Regions from separate parts of the Homo sapiens genome. Here all the other regions are linked to region 1. Evidence: promoter capture Hi-C in 16 types of primary human blood cells and fetal thymus (Javierre and others, 2016). All regions are on one chromosome and are shown on one strand. Each heading gives the region's core, a stretch centred on a gene start or on the middle of the fragment in contact. The rest is flanking DNA. Distances are from core to core; before and after follow the strand shown. Region 1 holds the start of PRR5 (proline rich 5). Region 2 overlaps EFCAB6 (EF-hand calcium binding domain 6). Region 3 overlaps SAMM50 (SAMM50 sorting and assembly machinery component). Region 4 has its middle 20 kb from the start of PARVB. Region 5 overlaps PARVB (parvin beta). Region 6 holds the start of PARVG (parvin gamma).

What was found. The method cuts DNA at HindIII sites, captures the fragments that hold promoters and counts their contacts. A CHiCAGO score of 5 or more calls a contact.
Region 2: a contact is called between a fragment that was not itself captured here and the fragment with the promoter of PRR5 in region 1, in 4 of 17 cell types (naive CD4 T cells, non-activated CD4 T cells, total CD4 T cells and 1 more). The highest score is 7.3, in naive CD4 T cells.
Region 3: a fragment that was not itself captured here is called in contact with the fragment with the promoter of PRR5 in region 1 in 1 of 17 cell types (total CD4 T cells); the score reaches 5.1 in total CD4 T cells.
Region 4: a fragment that was not itself captured here is called in contact with the fragment with the promoter of PRR5 in region 1 in 3 of 17 cell types (total CD8 T cells, naive CD8 T cells and naive CD4 T cells); the score reaches 7.2 in total CD8 T cells.
Region 5: a contact is called between a fragment that was not itself captured here and the fragment with the promoter of PRR5 in region 1, in 1 of 17 cell types (naive CD8 T cells). The highest score is 5.9, in naive CD8 T cells.
Region 6: the fragment with the promoter of PARVG here is called in contact with the fragment with the promoter of PRR5 in region 1 in 2 of 17 cell types (non-activated CD4 T cells and M0 macrophages); the score reaches 5.3 in non-activated CD4 T cells.

Annotation. Positions count from the first base shown.
Region 1 is chr22:44,700,186-44,703,813 of GRCh38, reverse strand. It overlaps PRR5 (proline rich 5), which reads right to left and starts at 1,610. Exons shown (of 8, transcript NM_181333.4): 1 at 1,206-1,610. The coding sequence starts at 1,339. PRR5-ARHGAP8 (PRR5-ARHGAP8 readthrough) reads right to left here and starts at 1,610. Exons shown (of 15, transcript NM_181334.6): 1 at 1,206-1,610. The coding sequence starts at 1,339. RefSeq lists a silencer at 1,327-1,736. The HindIII fragment of the contact is 5,837 bases long and covers 1-3,628 here.
Region 2 is chr22:43,807,269-43,810,896 of GRCh38, reverse strand. EFCAB6 (EF-hand calcium binding domain 6) reads left to right here. Exons shown (of 32, transcript NM_022785.4): 2 at 1,766-1,902. Among named protein-coding and RNA genes, the nearest start is that of EFCAB6, 3.2 kb to the left of the region's middle. The HindIII fragment of the contact is 3,227 bases long and covers 479-3,628 here.
Region 3 is chr22:43,979,539-43,983,166 of GRCh38, reverse strand. SAMM50 (SAMM50 sorting and assembly machinery component) reads right to left here. Exons shown (of 15, transcript NM_015380.5): 11 at 1,706-1,776. Among named protein-coding and RNA genes, the nearest start is that of SAMM50, 26 kb to the right of the region's middle. The HindIII fragment of the contact is 1,328 bases long and covers 1,152-2,479 here.
Region 4 is chr22:44,002,482-44,006,109 of GRCh38, reverse strand. It overlaps a transcript of PARVB not described here. Among named protein-coding and RNA genes, the nearest start is that of PARVB, 20 kb to the left of the region's middle. The HindIII fragment of the contact is 5,362 bases long and covers 1-3,628 here.
Region 5 is chr22:44,080,267-44,083,894 of GRCh38, reverse strand. All of the region lies in intron 1 of PARVB (parvin beta), which reads right to left. Among named protein-coding and RNA genes, the nearest start is that of PARVB, 58 kb to the right of the region's middle. The HindIII fragment of the contact is 1,958 bases long and covers 613-2,570 here.
Region 6 is chr22:44,178,547-44,182,174 of GRCh38, reverse strand. It overlaps PARVG (parvin gamma), which reads right to left and starts at 1,250. Exons shown (of 14, transcript NM_022141.7): 1 at 990-1,250; 2 at 258-433. RefSeq lists enhancers at 1-532, 533-1,263 and silencers at 640-769, 1,940-1,989. The HindIII fragment of the contact is 15,489 bases long and covers 1-3,628 here.

The sequences.
Region 1 (3,628 bases), core at 361-2,860:
CTTCCCTGGCTCAAGTAATCCTCCCATCTTGGCCTCCCAAAGTGCTAGGATTACAGGTGTGAGCCGCCGTGCCTGGTGGAGAACACAGCTCTTAAGACACTGTGCAGTCGTTGGGTCAGGGAGATTTCCCAACAGGAGTCCTTCCTTCACTGTTCCCACACCAGCCCTCCCCACAGGGAGGAATGCGAATACCCACTGACGGAGAGGGAAACGGAGGCAGGCATGTGACAGCCCTCTAGCAGTTTGCAACTCAGAGACAGAAGAGACCACGTTTGAAGAGGGTCTCGCTGGCAGCCCTGAGCCCACCATGACGCTCACAATGCATTCAATGAACTGAAAATAACGTGTGTCCAAGTGACAGCCGGGTTCCCGGTGGCCAAGACCACAGCCGGTGGAGCATCTGGCAAGATTTTACTGCCAGGTGTGGGCGCGAGAGGGGCAACGTCCACAGCCTCCCCCGAACAGTGTCCACAGCCTCCCCCGAACAGTGTCCACTGCCTCCCGCGAACAGCCTGCCTCACTTTCTCCTGCCTCTCATTTTCCTAGGGAGCAGAGACGCTGGGGAGTTCCACTAAATAAACCGTCTCTTTTCCAGATCCCGGACTTGCTCCTCAAACAAAGCTGGGAGAAGGGGCTTCCCAGGCCCCTGCTTGTCTGGGAATGACCCCTGGAGGAGAGTCCTCTAAAGAATGCCTCGCAGCTGCCGCACCCCCTGCTGACAGCTGGAGGACAGGGGGCCTCTCAAGGGAAAGCCGAAGGGAGCTTAAAGAGACACAGGAAGCCTGCGCGACCCACCCACTGAGCCCCGAGGCTCCCGTGCTCAGCCGCAAAATGGGAAAAATACTTCCTGCTCCGTTAGCCTCCCAGGTTGTCACGAGCACCGCAGTGGAGACGTGGAAAGACCCCGGGTAGGAGGCGGGCACGCGGCTTCCCGGCCCACCCCGCCGCCCACCCGCCGGGCGCTTCTGGGCCAGCCCCGGGCGCTGGCGGGCCTCGCTCCCTTCCCTGGGTTCTGGAACCACGCTGCACTGAACTTTCCTCCAGGCCCGCACCACTCCGGCGGGGCAAGTTCTTTGCAAACTGTGAAGCGCCGCGCCGCCTTCGGCAGCGTTCCTGGCTCGGGGCGGCCCCTAGCCCGCGGACGGCTCAGGGGTCCCCTCCCCCGGCTCCAGGGCCTCCGGGTGGCCGGGAGGGCGCGGCCTTACCTGTTCCAGGTGGCGTTGGCGCAGGCCCGGCGCTGCTGCGTGCCCCGCTCGTCCGCGGCGGCGGCCGGCTCTCTCTTGCCCAGGTCACTGAGGCTGGGCGAACTCATGAACTTCAACCTGCGGAGAGTCCTCATGGTGACCCGGGCCGCCTGCGCCGCGCCCACGCGCGCCCCACGCCGCGCCCTGCGCCACGCCGCACCAAGGGCCCCGGGCCGGCGATGCGCCCTCTACGCGGAAACTCCGGCGAGAGCAGGAAGCCGAGCGGTCCTGCGGGGTCCCGCCCCGGCCCCGCGCCTCCGTCTCGGGTCCCGCGCCGGCCGCCCCGCCGGGTTAATCATTGCACGGAGAGGCTCAGCGTGGAGCGCCAGGCGCGCGGCCAGCACAGACCCGGCGCAAACGGAGGCCGGGGGCGGACCCGGGGGCGGGCCCAGGGGCGGGTCTCGGCGCCCCGGGGGGCGGGGCGGGGAAGGGGGCGGGGGCATCGCGGGCGGGGCGGGGCCTCAGGCGAGGGGGCGTGTGCAAGAGGCGGAGCCGGCGTCTCCGCGGCCGCAGCTGCCACGACGCCTCGCTGGGTCTGCCCTCTGAGGACGTGCTCACCCTCCTCCCCTCTTCCGAGGGCCCCACGTGCCCACAGGAAACCAACACGCACAGGACGCAGGGCCCAAGCCCAAGCGCCCGCCCCCCGCCCAGCACTGCGGTCGCGCCCACACGATGTCCTTCGACCCCGGCCCCGGAGGTCTCCCTCCACAGCCCTCCTCGCAAAGGCTGTGCCACAGAGGTGCCTCCGTACCCCTCACCTGAACACAGGCTCCCCCACCCAGTTCTCATGAGGACTTTGGGTAGAGGCCTTCAGTCCCCTCCAGGCACCTTGGCCCAAGAACCCACTCCACCCGGGCTCAGCCTAGACCCCCTTGGACAGGGACTTCAGCATTGCCTGGCTGCCTGGAGGATTTGCTGGAGTGAGGGCTTGAAGAAGTAGAGGGTTTGCTCCTTATCTCCCACCCCCAGGTCTCTTGGATGGTAAAACCAAGCAGTTTCCCAAGTCCCTGTGGTGGGGGCAGAGTGATCCCAGTGAAGGCAGGGCACAGCCGGTGCTTCCTGCCTGCTTCGCAGAGCACTTTTAGATGTCTGATTTCACATGAACTAACATGAACTACTTCCGTGAGGTAGAGATTATTCTTCTCCCCATTTTCCAGTTGAGGACATTGAGGCTCACAGAGTGAAATAACTTGCCCAACATTGTGCCAACATTGTGCAATCAACAAATGGTAGAGTTGGGCTTCACCACAGGGAGCGTCCAGCCCCTTGAACAGGGCCCTTCCCAGTCCCCAGCTTCTGGGATTCCCACAAGGCTCACCTGACCCCTCCATCAGATGGGGGGTGACAGCCACAGCTCCAGGAGCTGGGAGGGCCCCATATAAAATGTAAGAGAGAGGTGATGGCTCATGCCTGTAATCCCAGCACTTTGGGAGGCCGAGGTGGGAGGATCACCTGAGGTCAGGAGTTCAAGACCAGCCCGGCCAACATGGAGAAACCCCATCTCTATTAAAAATACAAAATTAGCTGGGCGTGGTGGTGCATGCCCGTAATCCCAGCTACTCAGGAGGCTGAGACAGGAGAATCGCTTGAACCTGGGAGGCAGAGGTTGCAGAGAGCTGAGATCTCGCCACTGCACTCCAGCCTGGGCAACAACAGCAAAACTCCGTCTCAAAAATCATCATCATCATAATAAAATAAAATAAAAAGTAAGAGAGCCTCATGAAGAGTCTTTGTTTAGTGCAAATCAACCAGTGTCTCCTGAGTACCTCCTGTGTTCCAGACATAAATACCATCGTCTTTGGGAGACAGAGACATAAACAGACAAACTTGCTCATCAGTAAAGCGGGATGGAACGGTTCATCTCACAGGCAGCTTGGGGCCCACAGGCAGCAACAGGTGCTTTATAAACTAACTGTCAAGTGCTGTACACGTTTTCTTTTCTTTTTGAGACAGAGTCTCACTTTTTGGCCCAGGTTGAATGCAGTGGCACCACTGTGGTCACTGCAGCCTCTACCTCCTGGGTTCAAGCAACCCTCCCACGTTAGCCTCCTGAATAGCTGGGACTACAAGGCATGTGCCACCATGCCTGGCTGATTTTTTGCGTGTGTGATGGCGTTTCGCTCTTGTCGCCTGTGGAGTGCAATGGCGCAATCATGGCTCACTGCTAACCTCTGCCTCCCAGGTTCAAGTGATTCTCCTGCCTCAATCTAGTGAGTAGCTGAGATTATAGGCACCTACCACCACGCCTGGCTGATTTTTTTATTTATTAGTAGAGATGGGGTTTCACCATGTTGGCCAGGCTGGTCTTAAACTCCTGACCTCAGGTGATCCTCCCACCTCGGCCTCCTAAAGTGCTGGGATTACAAGAATGAACCACTGTGCCC
Region 2 (3,628 bases), core at 843-3,342, 890 kb after region 1:
AAGTGAGTCAGAAATGGCCCCTTTGATTATATGTGAAGATATTTGCCTCCTATCCAGTCTTATTGCAAGATCCTTTGAGGATGAGGATTTTATTTTAGTTATCTGTGCTTTCCCTTTTTCCTCTATGCTTATTTTAATGCTTGGTTCATGATAGGTGATCATAGATATTTATCAAGAAGTGCTTACCTGAGACTGTAAATTTCGCTCTCCAGGGAAAAACTGCCCTGTTCCAGCTATCTACCTCTTCCCCTTGTACAGAGATCTCTATAGCACCCATGCTCTGATCTCTGCAGCTGACTGGCACCTGGAGACAGAACCAGCTCCATGAGGATGTTTAGTAGCCTGGTGCCTGCCCAGATCAGGAATCTGGTGAGAGGCCACTGGTTGTTAACAAGGCAGTTGTTAACAACTGAGACAGGTTTGAGAAAACTGTGAATAGAGATAACATGAATATGATACCCTTTCAGTATTAAAAGCTTCATTTTCTACTTTTGGTTTTGATCTTTCACTGCTATTTTGTTTACTTTGTTTCAGGTACCATTTGTTACTTTTTCTTTCCATCTATTTGTCCACAGTTTTACTACTTCTATTTCTACTACAGCAACTACTAATACTACTACTGGCTAATACTAATTGAACACTTACTGTGTGCCAAGCACAGTTTGGTCCCTCATACTTTTTAAATTTAGTCCTCACAAGTTGGCTATGGAAAAGTACAAGTTGGGTGTGGTGGCTTATGCCTGTAATCCTACCACTTTGGGAGGCTGAGGCAGGAGGATCGCTTGAGGCCAGGAGTTCGAGACCAGCCCAGGCAACAAAGTCAGACCCCCCCCATATCTATGGTGGCATGTGCCTGTACTTCCAGCTACTCAGGAGGCCGAGATGGGAGGATCACTTGAACCCAAGAGTTTTAGGTTGCAGTGAGCCATGATAATGCCACTGTACTCCAGCCTGGGCGACAGAATGAGACCCTGTCTCAAAAAACAAAACAGGCTGTGCGCGGTGGCTCATGCCTGTAATCCCAGCACTTTGGGAGGCCGAGGCGGTTGGATCACCTGAGGTCAGGAGTTCGAGACCAGTCTGGCCAACGTGGTGAGACCCTATCTCTACTAATACAAAAAATTAGCCAGGCATGGTGGCAGGCACCTGTAATCCCAGCTACTCCAGAAGCTGAGGCAGGAGAATCTCTTGAACCTGGGAGGTGGAGGTTGCAGTGAGCCGAGGTCACACCATTGCACTCCAGCCTAGGCAACAAGAGTAAAACTCCATCTCAAAACAGACAAAACCAAAACCAAACAAAAAAACAAAACAAAAGGCAACAGGGACACAGAGAGGTTAAGGGACTTAACAAAGCTGATAAATGGTAGTGAGTATGGCTCCAACTCCAGGACTGCCTGATAATAACCTGTGTTCTTGATGAGTATGCTATCACTCTCAAACACTTATATACTCTACAAGTCCTGCCAAGGCTTTGAGATGACTTGTAAGAATAACTACAATGTGATAAAATAGAAACATGTAAATCAGAATCATTAAAAATATAGACAGAATAGGAAGGTATCAGAAAGAAGGAATACTCAGATCATCTATAACGGTTAATAAAGTTGGGCTGGAAATTTAGCTGGGAGCTTCTTGTCAACTCATGGAAAAATAAAAGTAAAAAAATAGAAGGTAATAAAATTTATTTTTTTTTCCAGGGAAATAAGGCCTTTTGATTCATCTGGAAAAATAGGTCTAACCTGTTTCTAAAATAAATTTCTCACAGGGCTCATCGCAGAGGATTGGAAGGGCCTAGATTACTGCCCAATGACAAAAGTGTGGGCTTAATGTCCTCACTCTTCAGGGAGAGAATGTGGACTTTAGCATTTGAACTGAATATTTGAGATTGAAGATTTCTGAATAGTAAGTTTTCGATAACACCTTCTGAATGTAGTTTTTCCCCTGGGACGTTGTAAATGGTGTTATCCTGCATCCTGGGTTGGTTTCAGTCATTTGTTTGCTCATTTACTTAGCAACTATTCATTGAGCATCTGCCATATGCCAACCCCTGCCTAAGCATTGGGGATCCCCAGGCAGTGGTCATCTCACTGCCTTGGCACTCCTGGTGTTTCCATCCTGCCAGTTCTTCCTGCTGGGTTTTTTTCTGGACTCACTTTTTGTTTTTTCTCTGTTATTTTATTCTGATATTCTGAGGTGACACCTATAACCATATAGCTGTTTTTTGTTTTTGTTTTTGTTTTTGTTTTTGCCCAATGCTCTGTCTGATTTATCTTTCTGTATATCCTCGGGACCTAAAAATAACAGCTACCAAATAGCTAAAGTTCACTGTGTGCCAGGCACTTCACGAATATCACCTGTGATCCATCTACACCTTTGGAGCAGTGGCATTTACCATTTTGGGGTCACCTGCCTTTTGAGAAGTGCTCTAGAAAAATCATCTCACACACAGTTTTGCATGTCAGTAAGTCTGTAGGGCTATAAAAGCACACACATGGACCGCGATTCCATGTTAAGAATACTTGCTTAAAGGAGAGATATTCCAGTGGTCCCTCAGTATCTGTGGGAGATTCGTTTCAGCACCCACTCGAAGATACCTAGATTCATGGATGTTCAATTCCCTTATATAAAATGGTGTAGTATTTGCATATAACCTACATAATCCTCCCATATGCTTTAAATTATCTCTAGATTACTTACAATACCTAATACAATGTAAATGCTATGGAAATCGTTATACCATATCATTGAGACAAGGAAAAAAGTCCATACATATTCAGTACAGACATCAACATCCATATTTTTCCTGAATATTTTCAATCCACTGTTGAATCTGTGGATGTGGAACCCATGGATATGGACGACAACTGTATCTCCCTTTTTCAAATGAGGAAACTGAGTCAGGAGGAGGTTAATTAACTTGCAAGTTGTTGTGGTGGATGGTGGAGCCAGTTTGACCCTATGCCTGCTTGACGTCAAAGGTTTTGATTTTTCCACCGTCCAAGAATGTAGATGCTCAGTAAATGGCCAATGTGTATATGGAAGTGTGTGGAAGGCTATAAAGGGAACTTGATAGTTGATATGTCCCAAAATATAACAGTCCATTTGATATCAGTATAGACAAGAAGATTTTTCTCAAGTGTTTGGATTTAACTGCCAAAACCTTTTGTGTTGCTTACAATTTTTTCCAATTTAGTCGAGTGATAATTTCCACACCCCTCTCCATGATACAGTTCCAGCAATTTTTGCTTCTGGTGCCATTTCTATTTGGCTGTGCACACTTTTTACTCTTGTGTTGAATTATGTTTTCTCTGGATGCCAAGGCAGATGGATGGCACTTTTGTTATGATTCTGATATAAATAGCACGTGTTTAAAACTGGACATCAATACTTCTCTGGCAAATAAACAAATATATCAGTGAGATAGCCTTCTAATTGTGTTTTTCCCATTGGTTAAGAAGTGTATTTGATGGTCTGTGACTTGATGCTTATTTTGGGGGTATTAGTTTTTATGATCCTTGCCAATTTCTACCTCACCAAGTTCTGAAGTAATCACATTCATTAATGTCTCAAAATTCTCTTTATTTTGAAAACCTCAGCTGAGGATGGTGTAAAGTCAGGGGTGAGCTAC
Region 3 (3,628 bases), core at 566-3,065, 720 kb after region 1:
GAGGCTAAGAACACCCTGCAGGTCTGCAACAGCACAAAGGGAACAGGGCGCGGCTTTTTCTGGTTTTCCTACCAAATAAAAGCCTTTATGAATTTTTTCATTTTAATTTGAGTTTTAAAACCTATAAATATGTTTTTACTACTTGGGATTTCTAAGCAAGGCTTTTCTGAATACCCCATTAACATGAATTGCAAAAACAGCAAGCTTCGTTTTTAAAGAAATGATCAATCAGGCCACGTGCGGTAGCTCGCGCCTGTAATCCCAGCATTTTGGGAGGCTGAGGTGGGCGCATCACCTGAGGTCAGGAGTTAGAGACCAGCCTAGCCAACATGGTAAAACCTCGCCTCTACTAAAAATACAAAAATTAGCTGGGCGTGGTGCCGGGTGCCTGTAGTCCCAGCTACTTGGGAGGCTGGGGCAGGAGAATAGCTTGAACCCGGGAGGTAGAGGTTGTAGTAAGTCGAGATCGTGCCACTGCACTCCAGCCTGGGTGACAGAGTAAGACTCTGTCTCAAAAAACATACATAAATAAAATAAAAAAGAAACGATAAATCACACATTTGAATTCAAATGATCCAGGATGCATATAACATAACGAGTGAAATGGTTCTGCCTGCTGCATCCCAGGCTCTGGGGTGCCCACCGTCACTGTTTTGGTGGCTGGCTTCCCAGGCCCTCGGTGCTACACCTGCATGCACGCTGGAAAGGGATCCACTAAACATATTCATGTGCAAAATGTTAACTTATGAACACATATCTCCTTATTTTTAATAATTACATAGATCTGGAATGGTTGTGCTAGAATTTCACCATTTCCCTACTGCGGAACTTACATAAGGCAGTTTCAAATTCTTTGCTATTCATCAGCAATGCTACAATGGACATCCTTCTACACATAAATCTTTACACACTTAGAAAAGTACTTTTGTAAATTAGATTCATGGAGTTTTGTGAAACTGTTAGGATCCAGAGTTTATAAACCTAAAATTGTTCTACTTCCAAACCACCATCCAAAAAAGCTGTACCAGTATATTTTAACTAATGCAGGGTTGAAAAAAAAGTTTTTTTGCCCTAGAGGACAATGATTAGTATTTCGAAGCAACAAGTACAAGTTCATACCCTGCTGGTAGGGGTATAAATTGCTGTAAGCTTCCTAAAAGCAGCACCCAGCAATACTATGAGTTTTACTTTGAGAGAGTAATACCACAGAAAATAAAATAAACAACAAGTTATCTTAAAAGTTATTATTTACAATGTTATTTACAAAAATCACAAATTAGAAACCAATGAAATATCAAAAAATACACGGTAGGCTAAAAAGTTATGGTATATGCAAATAATGAAACATATGCCACTACAATGCTGCTTATAAAGAATTTCTCATGACTTAGTGAGTGCTTTCTCTAATTTCTTTAAGTGTTTCTCCATTTTTGCATTTCTGCAATGAGTATGAACTATATTCCTTCATAATCAAAAGGGAACAATACATTTTAAATATAATAAAGTAACTTCCCCAACAAAAGCAAAAAATATTAAGTGTGAGGTATACCCGATATTTAGAAATTAGCTTAAACATAAATACTAAAGGAATATTTGAAATACTATGCTCTCCTAAATAAACTTCTCTAAAATATCTTATAAAAAACAACTGAAAAGATCCAAAGGAAAATATGTGCAAATTATCCATTCATTGATTAGTACTTACCTATCAGCAATGCTTGACGGCTTATCACCAATGGGTACCAACATTCCGCCCCAGAAAGACGCTGAAAAAACCTGTTCAAATAGAAACAAATGGTTGTTTTCTCCCAGCATTCCTTTCACTCCAGGAACATCAGCAACTAGCAACTGGCCACACACTGAATGCCCGTGGCGTGCAGAGCTCCGCGATGGGGTGCAAGGGCCGCAGGAGAATGCCTGGCTTGTCCCGTTGCAGAGCTACCCTTCGAAGGGCCACGTGGATTCTATTAAAACACGCAATTCCAAAGTCCAAATCAAGACACACCGAAGGCGAGCAGGGCCCGGCTTCCATTCGGACACAGGGCAGGCCCCTGCTCTGCAACGGGAAGTGACGCCCAGCAGCAGGAGCCAAGGCCTCACAGAGGAGGGAGCCAGGCCCCCTGCACCTGCTCAGGCCTCTTTGCCGCGGCCTCAAAATGTGGAAGGATTCAGGGCACACGCATTTTAGGCTGAAAGAAGGTACCGGCTGCAAGGCTCCCCCAATGCAGAGACGCACTCCCAACCCCACTCTCAAGGACAGAGCCTTGTCTCTTACAGGGCAGGAGGCAGTAGCCAGTCTTGGCTCAGTGAGCCCATCTTCATGCCACAAAACCTTCTCAACAATGTCCTCAACCAGGTAGAGGCTCTCCTGCTCCCCTGCACCCCATGTTTTCGGGCGGCTGGCCGAGCCTCACACGTTCTCTGCCTTGCAAATGCCTATGTCCCTCCAAGCTGCTCAGAAATGGCTTTCTCAGAAGCTTCTGTAGGAAGGACAAGCTTCTGTCCCCACAGCAGCTGGCATTTTCTTCTCAGCCAGGTGTCCGGACTCTGCTCAGAAGGCTCCAGGGCTTCCCTCTCATGTAGAGTGGAAGCAAGAGCCCACATCCGGCCTCCAAGGCCCTCCTGCCACTACTGCTCTTGGAATTCATGCTCCCGCCCGAGGTGTCCCGCTGTCCTACCCTTGCTCCCTCACCGTGCTCTGGGCTGTGCTCGGGGGTTGCCTTACTAGCCACCCTCCCTGACCATCCTAACTAGATGGCATCCCCTTCTGGTCACTTTCTACCCCTTAATTCTGCTTTATTTTTCTTCACAACACTTGTCACCGCCTCCTCAATGATATATAAAGATACTAGCTTATAGGTTTCCCTCCTCAAGAATGGAAGTTCCTTGAGAGCAGGAATTGGGCTTTGTTCACTGATATATTCTTAGTGCCTGGACAGTGCCTGGCAGCCAGCATACATGTGTTAGACTGGTGGATGGATGGGTGGGTGGGTGGGTGGGTGAATGGATGGATGGATGGATGGATGGATGTGTGGGTGGGTAGGTGGGTGGGTGGATGGGTGGATGGGTGGATGGATGGACGGACGGATGGATGGATGGATGGGTAAATGGGTGGGTAGATGGATGGGCACTACCACAGGATAAGCACAGGAGCTACGGGCACAGTGGAGGAGCCCCCACTTCCATCTAGGAGGTTGAAGAAGGCTTGCAGGAGACACACCTATACCAAAGTCTTAAAGGCAGGGAGTGGGAGGCCAAGGAAACAACTGAAAAAAAGGGAGTTACAGCCAGCGGCAGACAGAGTGAATACGAGTGCCTGAAAGTCAGGGTGAGCCAATGCCTTCTGGGAAACAAAAAGTATTTCCACAGAGCCGAAGCATGAGACAGGCACAGTGATGAAGGATCAAGGGCTACAGGCACCCTAACAGCACAAGCAGTTTGTGTAGGAAAGTGATATGGTAAGGCTTGTGTTTCAGAAACACTAACACATCTGCAGTGTGGAGAAGGGGAAGGGGAAGGCAGGGAGTGGAAGGGGAGTAAAGACGACTCAAAAAGACTAATATGTCCATAGTGTAGAGGGGGGAAGGGGAAGGCAGGGAGTAGGAGAGGAGCAGAGACGACTCAGAAC
Region 4 (3,628 bases), core at 684-3,183, 700 kb after region 1:
ATAGCTGGGCATGGTGGCATGCGCCTGTGGTCCCAGCTATTCCAGAGACTGAGGTGGGAGGATCCCTTGAGCCAGGGAGTTGAGACTGCAGTGAGCTATGATAGCGCTGTTACCAGTGGAGGGTCTTGATTATGAGTCTTGGCGTTTTGAACAAAGAATTGGGCAAAACGCACAAACAAAGAAACAATAGAATGAAGCAACGGAAGCACAGATATATTGAAACAGAAGTACACTCCTCAAAGTGGGAGCAGGCTCTAGCAGTGGCTGAGAGCCCTGGTTACAGAATTGTCTGGGGTTTAAATACCCTCTAGGTTGTTACTTGATTACAACCGATGTAAATGAAGAAGTGGCCTGCGACCAGTCTGATTGGTTGTGGGAGGGGACCAATCAGAGGAACTTCCCATTTTTCATCTGCCATGCAGTGGAAAGGTGGGAGGGTTGAGTAGCCTCTGATCCTTTCGTTACTTGGGTGTGGAGAGGTGGGGTTTTCCTTTTGATTCAGCTCTAGGAAATCAGTGCAAATCAGCCTTAGGTACCCTGCCTCCAGAACCCATTCTCCTGCCTCAGCACCACTGCACTCCAGCCTAGGTGACAGAGCAAGACCTTGTCTCTGAAAAAATTAAAGAAAAGAAAGAGAAAAGCATGTAACAGGAACTACAGTATGCTATTATTTGTGTAAAAAGAAAAAAAAAAAAACGGCCAGGCGTGGTACCTCATACATGTAATCTCAGCACTTTGGGAGTTCAAGGCAGGAGGACTGCTTGAGCCCAGGAGTTTGACACCAGCCTAGGCAATATAGCAACACCCTGTCTCTACAGAAAAAAAAAAAAAAAATAGAAAAAATTAGCTGGGCACGGTGGCACACGCCTATAGTCTCAGTTACTTGGGAGGCTGAAGCAGGATGATTGCTTAAGTCCAAGAGGTTGAAGCTGCAGTGAGCCGTGATTGTGCCACTGCACTCCAGCCTGGGTGACAGAGTGAAACCCTCTCTCAAAAATAAATAAATAAAACTATAAAATTTTTTTAATCATTGATTTTTAAAGAGCTGTTGTATTTTTCCCACCTTTATTGCAAAATAAAGATTTTCTGTTTTCAAGGCTCATAAGCAGGTCGGTCAGGAGTCTGTTGAGTACACAGCACTGTCCCTGAGAACCTTTTAAATCAATCATCCATTTTTAGAATCTTTTTGGAACAATGGCTCCTAATTCTCCTTAAAATGTACTTCAGGTGCTTAACCCTATTGCCTGTTCTGGCTTAGCCCAGAAGACAAAAGCAGTGCATGCTCACAAACCGGACGTTGTGTTGCAGGACAATCAAAGACTGGAGAGACGGAAAAGGTTCAGGAGAGTTTATTAAATTAAGGTGATCACCAGCTCAGCCGGACATAGGTCCAGAAAGTTTGAGCCCCGAACAAAGGGCTTTTTCTACTTGTAAACATCTTAAGGCAGGAACTACGTGAGGCGGGAAGCAAGTTACAGAAGCAAGAAACAAAGACAGCATTACATTTCTTATATCTTGAGAGAAACATGTCTTGCCACCTAAACTTATTGGTCTTGTGACCCTGCAGCCATGCTAGGGAGGTAAGCAGGAACTCGCTGGGCCTGTAACAAACTTTGAGGAATGTGGAGTTGGGGAGTATAGATAAGGTCCACTGTCCACAGAGAGAAGACAGACTGTTAATATTCTCTTTTAACTTGAGAGTAAGGGGGGGGTCACACTTTGCAGCAACTTTGAGAGGATTTTAAAATTTCTATTACTACTACTGTTAGGTTATAGTTGATTTTATTAATTCCTTCTTCAGTTGCGGGGAGCTCAAAAGGGTCCTCACTGACTTCGCGCGCGACCTGGAGCGCCTGCTCCTGCCCCAGCACCTCTGCCAGCAGGGGGTACCCAGGCTCCCTTTTCTGTGCCCATGGCTCTGCTACTTCGTGTCTGCTGTGATGTCTTTGGCAAACATCTAGTTTGATTGTTTTTTTCTCACTCAAGCTCAGAAAAGGTGGAACTTATTTTCTCTGACCAGAGAATGACATGCAGATGGATACACCCCTCTCCATCCTGTTCTAGAGGCTTCCATCCCAAGAGTGGGGAAGGGCCAGCACCTGGCAAAGTTCTCCAAACAGAACTAGGGGCTCCCTGGAGAAGGGGAGTGGCCAGCCCTGCAGAAGCCAGGCCCAGCAGCGGCAACTACAGGTCATTTGGAACAACTTCAGGGAAGGGGACATCGGAGGTAAGGGATGGGCAGACACAGGAGGCTGTGGGACCTCTGGGGCTAAAGAGGAGGGTAAACCTGACGGCAGTTGCCAGAAGAGCCACCTGTACAACACCCTGCACCTGGCCCAATGTCCATGTTGGAGGAACGAATAAGCGAACAAAGGAAGTGAGAATCCAAAGCCAGCTCCAACTCCTAAACACAGGCTCTTTCCACCCCAACACAAGGTTTCCTGCTCCCCACCCCTGGAAGAGCAGTTTTCAGACAGACAGGAAAGGCTAGGACCCTGGCCTGGGAGTGTGGGAATGGAAAGAAAGGGTCAGATTCCAGGGAGTCCAGTCCTGGCGTGGCTGCCGCAGCACATTATAACAGGGCTTAATCTCTCTGGGTTAAGGTTTGGTGATGAATCCTACTTAGCCTTTACTAGATACAGAACATCCCAGGAAATTCCATTCCACTTGATTTCTGCAGTCAGGTGGAATGGATGTCAAGTCAAGATGTCACCTTTCATCCCCAAGGCCACATCACAGTCTCTTTATGATGTTCTGGTATTTCCAGCAGTAGCTCTGCCCGCTCAGTATTTCAGGGAAATTACGTTTAGATGAACGGTAATTTCTGGCTATGATAATAAGATCAAAGCAATTGTATTTGGGTCTCTGACTCAATACAGGAAGGTCACCTTCTATTTCACAGTAACGGATGGATCCAGGCTGGCTATTATCTCAACCCTGCGAAGTCAGAATATTTTAATTGACCGGCACATCCATCTAGTGACAAATGTAGGGAATGCTTCATCCATTAGAAACTGATTGATTGAAAAGCACGGGGGAAGTACGGGGAAGAAAGGCTGTAATTTTCACAGTTGGTCAAACTTCACAGAATGTCCTTGCTTTTCAAAAATCATGACTATTTTTCTAACAAGATAATGCTGAATCTCCTTTTGCATGAATGTTTGTTGCTCTTAAAAGTTATCTAATGATTTGGCAAAGGAATCCAGTAATTTACTTGTCAGGAAGGCACTATGTATAAAGCTACAACTCTGGCACCGAGACGTGTGTGTCTGTGATTACCATTCGCCCCACTTTCGGGCAAAGCATTTTTCATTCTTGAAAACAGGCCAACTGGTTTGACCCCAGGAAGGCACGACTGAGACAGCCTCCCACGGTTCACTACGCAAACTGAAATCTGTATGTGTAAATGTAAAAACAGGCCTCACGTTTAATGCAGAATTTAATGCCAGTCCTTGCTCTTTACAGTGTTCTCCTGTGTACAGCCACGCAGGAAAGACATCCCTCCTACTAGAACCCACTGGGATTGGCAGGTTCTTACCCACCCCACGGAGCGCAGAGACCACGCACCCGCCTCTGCCCCTCCACCAACACCCACTGCCCCCTCCTGCCACTTCTGAGTTCCTACCAC
Region 5 (3,628 bases), core at 342-2,841, 620 kb after region 1:
TTTGCAAACCAAGAGAGTCCTGTCTGATGTAGAAATCCTTCCAATACACAAAGCTGGCGTTGGTCACTCCCTGCTGCAGTGCACCCCATGGCTCCCACCAGCTCCAGGGTAAAACGCAAAACCTTCATAGTGGTACCCGATGACTGTTAATGAGCAGACCCCTCCTCTCATCAATACAGCTGCAGTTACCATGCTTCCACACTCATCGTCTGATGAGGCCATTCCAGGCCACTTCTGTAGGTCATATCTCTGCCCCTCTGCTCGACTGTCCCCACAACCTGCAATGCCCTTCACTTCAGGTCAGCTAGCTCCACCCATTTCCCACCGTCTGGAAAGCACACTCTGCACATCCTCTATCCCTGGGTGCAGTTCGGGCCCCTCCTCTGGGTTTCCACAGCTCCCCGTGCACATGACAATGACAAACCCTATTCCCCGATCATGTGATTGTGGACTGTGCTCATCTCCCTGCACCCCCCGACCCCGCAAGGAGTGCACAGGGGCCAGGTCCCATTCATGACCATGGCCTCACATCCTGCATAAAACCCAGCACATGGATAACTGCTCTCTGAATATCTGTGGAATGAATGAATGAATGAACACAAATGCTAAGCTTATGTAGGCCAAATGGAGCTACATAGATAATTTCTACAAGAGAAAGTCAGGGAACTGAACTGACGGCTCTCACACAGCATCCCACCTCCAGCCACTTAATTGGGTGGAAAAAGAGGGTTTCCATTAAGGTTTACATTAGCCTGGCAGTCGTGTTTCACAAGGAACCCAATTACCCTGATGTGGCCACGTAGAGGCTGATGGGCTCAGGAGGAAGGAGTCCGCTCCGCAATTAGGGACTTGCTAGTACAAGCAGCCCAGGAGCCAACATCCCCCCAGCCTCACCTCCTGGGGTGTGCATTCCGACCAGCCACCTGCTGCAGGAATCTGAAATACAGACCACCCCGAGATGGAAGGAGTCCATCTGGCTCAGGGAAACTGGGTCTTCTGAATACGAAAAGTTGCTTACATAGAAATGTAAAAAAAGCTCCGAAGCCCATGTTAAACAGATGATTCCCTTGGCCCAGAAACACGGTCTTTTCTTCCCCTTTGTCCCTGGGGTGATCAGGAAAATGTTAGAACCACAGAAAAATGAATCCTTTGTGGGAAGGAGAACAGGAAGAAAGACTTCCAGGTGCACGGTAAAATGTCAGGTTGGCCGTCTAACCCACCTGGGCGAGAAACCGGGGCATGGAGGGGCCGGTGAGCTTCTTGTCTACAAAGGAGGACACATTCTTTAGAGACAATGATGATCTGATTGGTTTCTCAGACTGAAAGCCACATGAGTCAGTTTTTGTTTTTTGTTTTTTGTTTTTGTTTTTGTTTTTGAGACGGACTCTTGCTCTGTCGCCCAGGCTGGAGTGCAGTGGCTCGATCTTGGCTCACTGCAACCTCCACCTCCCAGATTCAAGCGATTCTCCTGCCTCAGCCTCCTGAGTAGCTGGGATTACAAGTGTGCACCACCACACCCAGCTAATTTTTGTATTTTTAGTACAGATGAGGTTTCACTATGTTGGCCAGGTGGATCTCGAACTCCTGATTTCAAGTGATCCACCTGCCTCGGCCTCCCAAAGTGCTGGGATTACAGGCACGAACCACCGCACCTGGCCAACTTCTTTAATTCCTCCCTTCAATTGCCACCCTTCCGGAGCACGGGAACCTACCGCCCAGTGCCCCCACCTTGCGGTGCACAGTGGGATACACATCCCCAAAGCCAGCCTCCCCCGCCCCAAAAAAGAGCTACCCCATTTGCCTCCCGTTTTCTCGGCCCCTCACCCTCAGCTCCAGTGCCCAGCAGCCACTGCCTCCTGACCACTCTCATCCTAATTCCTTAGCAAGTCCTTCGACGCAAGCCTCTGCCTCTGTGATTTTCAGAGGCTGCGTCTGTCACATTTCTCCAACCCATCACGCTGGCTTTCAGGGGGTACTTCCAAATGATTTCAGTCACTGGTCATGAAATCTGTCATTAGCTAATAATAAGAAGAAAAGAGCCTCGAGGCAGCAGAAGGTGGGGGCAGGGTGTGAAACCCAAAAGAAACAATTCTCAGAAGAGGATGCCAACCTTTCCCCTGGCGTGTGTCACCGTCACCGCCCCTCCGAGCCCAGCCACTTGCCAGCAAGCTGCACAATGAGCCCCACCGAGGCGGGGGGCAATGGAACCCGCTGCTCACTTCCAGCAACAGACGAGCCCCATGAGACTGCCAGGCTCTTAGAGAAACGCACTTCATAAAGGAAAGCAGAAACGGCCGTGCAGAAGCTAAGTCTGGAGAAGCACGTTCGCTGGTTCCCAAGTTGTGAAACTCGTATTAATTAATGTGACTGGTAACGTCCCAATGTATCCAGGGAAGTCCAAAGCGTTGTCTGCTGAGAAAATAAGAAGATTAAATCATTAAGTCGTTAGAAAAAGAAAGGCTTTACTATGCACCTGCCATGGAAACGGGGATGTGGGAAAGGCCAGAAGGACAGTGCCCTCTAGCGGCTGTCTCCCCTGCAGAAGTGACACAGATGCCTCCATGAAAGCTTCCCCCAACAGGAGGACCCGGCCTGCTTCGGAGACAGGCCCCTTCCAAAAGCAGGTGGATTTGGGGAGTGCTGGAAGCCATTGGCCTCTGGTGCTGGCAGCTCAGTTCCCACCTGAGATACTCAAAGAACCACCATGGCACTGCCTTGGGCCCCACCGGGCACAGACAACTCTACCCATCAGGAACAGATGCAATGCCCACAGCAGAAAAGGAGAAAGGCCTTCACGGCCCACAGGGGTCCCCACACCCCTGCTGGAGACTGCACCTTTGGAGGAACAGCCCCAAACAAGGGATGGAGGGATGACGGCAGGTGGAGAGTCACTCCATGACCCCACAAAGCAGGTCAGGTTCCCCACTCCCCGCATCCATTCCCCTTCCTCTCCTTTCGAGGCACTATTAGTCTAAGGCACATCTGTGCTACAGGATTTGCGTCTACAGTGCTCTGAAAGGACAGATGCATGGCCTGCTCTGTCTCCCCTGCTCCCAACATGACGCCTGGACTGAGGCAGGTGCTCCGTGAACACTCGGTGAATTCATGAATGAATGAATCAGGGTTTCGGGACTCTACCATTCTCTCTACTGCAGTGTCTCCTGTAAAAACTCAAAGGATGTACTTTCTACTCCATCTGTCACTGTCTCTATGGAAGGCTGGATCTTGGTCCCTGCAAAGATGTCCACATCAAGTCCCAGGAAACTGTGACTTTGCATGGCAAGAGGGAGTTTGCAGATGTGATTAGGTAAGGACCTTGGGGTGGGAGATTAGCCTGGATTATGCAGGGGGCCCAATGTGATTGACAGGGTCCTTACAAGAGGAAGCAGGAGGGCCAGAGCCAGAGGAGGTGTGGCGAAGGAGACAGAGAAAGATCGGGAGATGGCTTTGAAGACAGAGGAAGAGGCCAGGCACTAAGGAACGCAGGTGCCTCTGCAAGTTGGAAAAGGCAAGGAATGGGATTCTCCCCTGGAGCCTCCGGAAGGAACCGGCCCTGCTGCCACCTTGATGTTGGGACTCCTGACCTCCAGAACTGTAAAATAATAGATTTGTGTTGGTTTAAACCACT
Region 6 (3,628 bases), core at 1-2,500, 520 kb after region 1:
TTCACCTGGAGACGGAGGGGTTGGCTGAAGTTCAGAGGCGGCAACTCCTCAGTAGAACAGGGAGGGAGGACGCCGAGCAGCCTCTGAGCAGGGGCAGCCGGAGGGGCCGTGGGGACTCAAGGTCCCACTTTACCGACTCCCTTCCCCGGGTGGCCTGGGCTGGGACTGCACTCTGGGATCCTTCCCAGGTGGTGTCTGGGCCCCTCCCTCCGTGACCCCCAACACTCAAGTATGGTGGCCCCGATGCCAGAACTCACCCAACCGCTTTCCACGCAGGAAAACAAAGGCCTACTGAGTGCAAAGGGTGGTCCCTGGATTCCGAATGGAAGCAAGTTCCGGGTTCTTCTGGGGTCTTCGGGGACCAGGCCGGGAGGCAGGAGCCCCGCTGCTCACTTCCTCCAGGCCCGCTCAGCCGGCAGGAGCTTCCTCCTCTCTGCGGCAGGGCCCGAGGGGGGTGGATGCCGTGAAAGTGAAGCTGCCACAAACCTCCAGAAAGCTCTGCCCGGAGCCCCAGCGCCCGCCGTGCCGCCTGGGCCCCCGGGGTTCTGCAGGCCACTTAAACTCAATGCTTTCATTTCTCCCCCTCTCCCCGCCTTCCCCAAACCATGCCAGTTTCCCCGCAGGCTGTTCACCTCCAAAATGGCAGCTACATAGGCCAGAGCCTGGGGTCGACCCCCGCAACCCACCACCAGCACCCTGTCAGCCTGGCCTCCACCCTCCATCCCGCACCGCCGTCCTCCCACCTCCACACCCCGCCCCGGGCCAGGCCCCTTCCTCTCCCGGGACCACGCAGGAGACTCCTACCTGGACTCTCGGCTGCAGACTTCCCCACGCCCCCTGCCCGCCCCTGAGCTGAGGCTCCCACAAGCCCTCGGAGGAGTGAGTCACTTCCTGACCCCACTCACTCAAACCCACCAACGGCACCCAATAGCTCTTAAAATAAAATCCAGGCTGTGCGTGGTCTGTCTCTCTCAATCGCGGTTACATACCCGTGTCTAGAACAATGCTTGGCACAAAGTGGGCTCAGTGAATAAATATTGGTGGTGGTTGTTGCCAAGGGGATCGGGAAGGCTTTCCAGAGGAGAATGGGGCCTTGACGGCTGCATAGGAGTTTGCAGTGGAAGAAGAAGGGGTGAGAACGTGGCAGGTGGAGAAAACAGCGTATGCAAAGGCATAGCAGGGTTCGAGAAGGAGAGATCTCAGCACAGTAGATAGAGAAACACTTCAGACCCGAGCTGGTCTCTCAAGCTGGAATCTTCACCATCCGGGCTGAAATGGTGAGTTTCCCTAGCAACAGGTGACTGGGAAGCTATCTACCCTTTCTGACAGGTTAGGCAGAAAGTGGCTAAATCAGGTGGGATGCAGGTGTAAGGAGTGTGTGAGAGCAGGAAAGTAGGGTCGTTTACAAGAAGTTAATAAAAAATGACAAAACTTAGTACTGGTATTGTTGCTAATATTTATGGAGTCATTGGTGATGAAACAAACATAATTTTAAGGGCTTTCATTTTACTGGAAACTTCCTTGTGAGGTAGGTACAATCATCACCCCCATATTACAGAGGAAGACACTGAGGCACATGAGTCAGTCCCTGCCATTCTGAAGTGCCCGTGCTAGACTGGGGCTTGTAACAGGTGGGGAGAGAAGCCACCGTGCAGGACCTATTTTGCTGGGGCGTGTGTAGCAGGCTCAGCCCAGCTCTGGACACAGTGGTTCTGGTGGTGGCTTCTGACTCTGGATCACAGCCACATAGATGTAGCAGCAGTCACAGTCCCAGCAGCAAAGAGACGGTATATTCCCATGTGCTAACTGAAGACTGTTTAATAAAGGGACAGCTGGGGCAGGGTTAAAGGAACCCAGAAGAGACAGTGCTACACCCCAGGCTAGCAACATGGGGAGCTGTTACTTCTTCAAAACCTAGAGGGTGAAGGAGGGAGTGGGTGGCAGAGCCCAGGAACAGAATCACTGAAGCTCTAAGAGGGGCCTCGGGATAGGAGCTGTGGCCTTTGGTAGAGGGACACAGCCAGCTCATGGTGAACCAGCAGAAGGGCACAGCTGGAGGAATCAATGACCAAGCCTCACTCTCCTCCCTCCTGCCAGGGCCTCCCCTGCCCACATCCAGCCAGAAGCCAGAGAAAAGAAGTCCCCTGCTGCGGCCCATAGATGTGAGGAGAGAAAATGGTGGGGAGTGGATCTGCAGAGGTGAACCTAAAGCATTCAACCCAGAAAGCATGCTTCTAGGGCCAGCCTGACTCGGCAGCTTCCTTCAGGAGCCAGCTCTGCAGTATTCTTCCAAGAGTCCTTGCTGGAGGCGCTGCCTCCAGCCTTCCAACAGCTTGAGAATCACACAGCTTCCTATGTTAGATTCCTTTCTCCTCCAAACAACTGAAGAGACTCTAATCATCGGCAACTGAATCCCAATTAACTTCGGATTTGTTACCAGAAACAATTGCAGGCAACACGACCTCCAGGATGGGAACTGGGATTGGTTACTTGTTCTGGTTGATTTAAAGGCAGTGGGGACCTAGTAACTGTTAGAGAATGGAGTTCTAATAGATCGTAGCCTGTGATGGCAAAATAATTACCTGTCATCACTCAGAACGAAGTACCTATTAAATTGTGGCTTTGGCAGAGTTGTGGCTTCCATACGCAATACGAGCACAGGTTATCTAAGGACTGTGGGGTGAGCTTGTTATCATCACACCAAAGAGTTTAAAGCAAGAAAAGGACAGTCCCAGGGCTTTACATTCTCAGCTCAAGGTATGTGCAGAATACAGGGAGTTCTCTGATAGCCCTCAAAGCTATCTCTCATCTCTTGGGGCTGCAGGGCTGATGTAAGAATCAGATGCGAAATCTAATCCTGTATGGTGTGGAGTTACAACAGACTAAATCCACAACTCACAAAGCCTCTTGTGTGTAGAGCATTGTTTAGGGGAAGAGAGGGACTCTAAGAATTGGAAGAGTAACATGGAGATAAGTCCAAGCACCCCCAAACCCCAATTAAGAGAAAGGCATGGATAGAAGGGAATTATTCCAGCCTTTTTTTTTTTCAGAGACACGGTGTGAAATATACCTGTGCAAATATGCCAAACACTACTGAACTGTATACTTAAAAATAGTTAAGACAGTACATTTTATGTTACGTGTATTTTTAACCACAACTAAAATTTTTAAAAATTAATAAAAAATAAATAAATTGCAGGGATCACATCACTTTAGGGATATCTCTAAATACTTCAGAATGTTTCTCCTAAAAACATTCTCCTGCATAACACAGTACCATTATGATACCTAAGAAAATTAGCATTGATAGAAGGTTTTCTAATATCTCATCCACATTCAAACTTCACCAAGGCTTCAAAAAATGTCTATTACAGCTGTATTTTTTTTAATCCAAGATCCATTCAGGCATCACACAGCACATGTGATTGCATTTGGTTTTCATGTCTCTTTAGAGCCCTGTAATCTAGAACAATCTTTCACGACACTAACATTTTTTAAACATCCAGGTCAGTTGTCCTGTAGAATCTATCACTTCTGTCATTTCCTGGTCTGCTTCTGTGGACTGATTTTTCTCCCGATTGTGGGTCACAGTTTCCTGCTTCTTTATAATAATGTTTTATTGAATGCT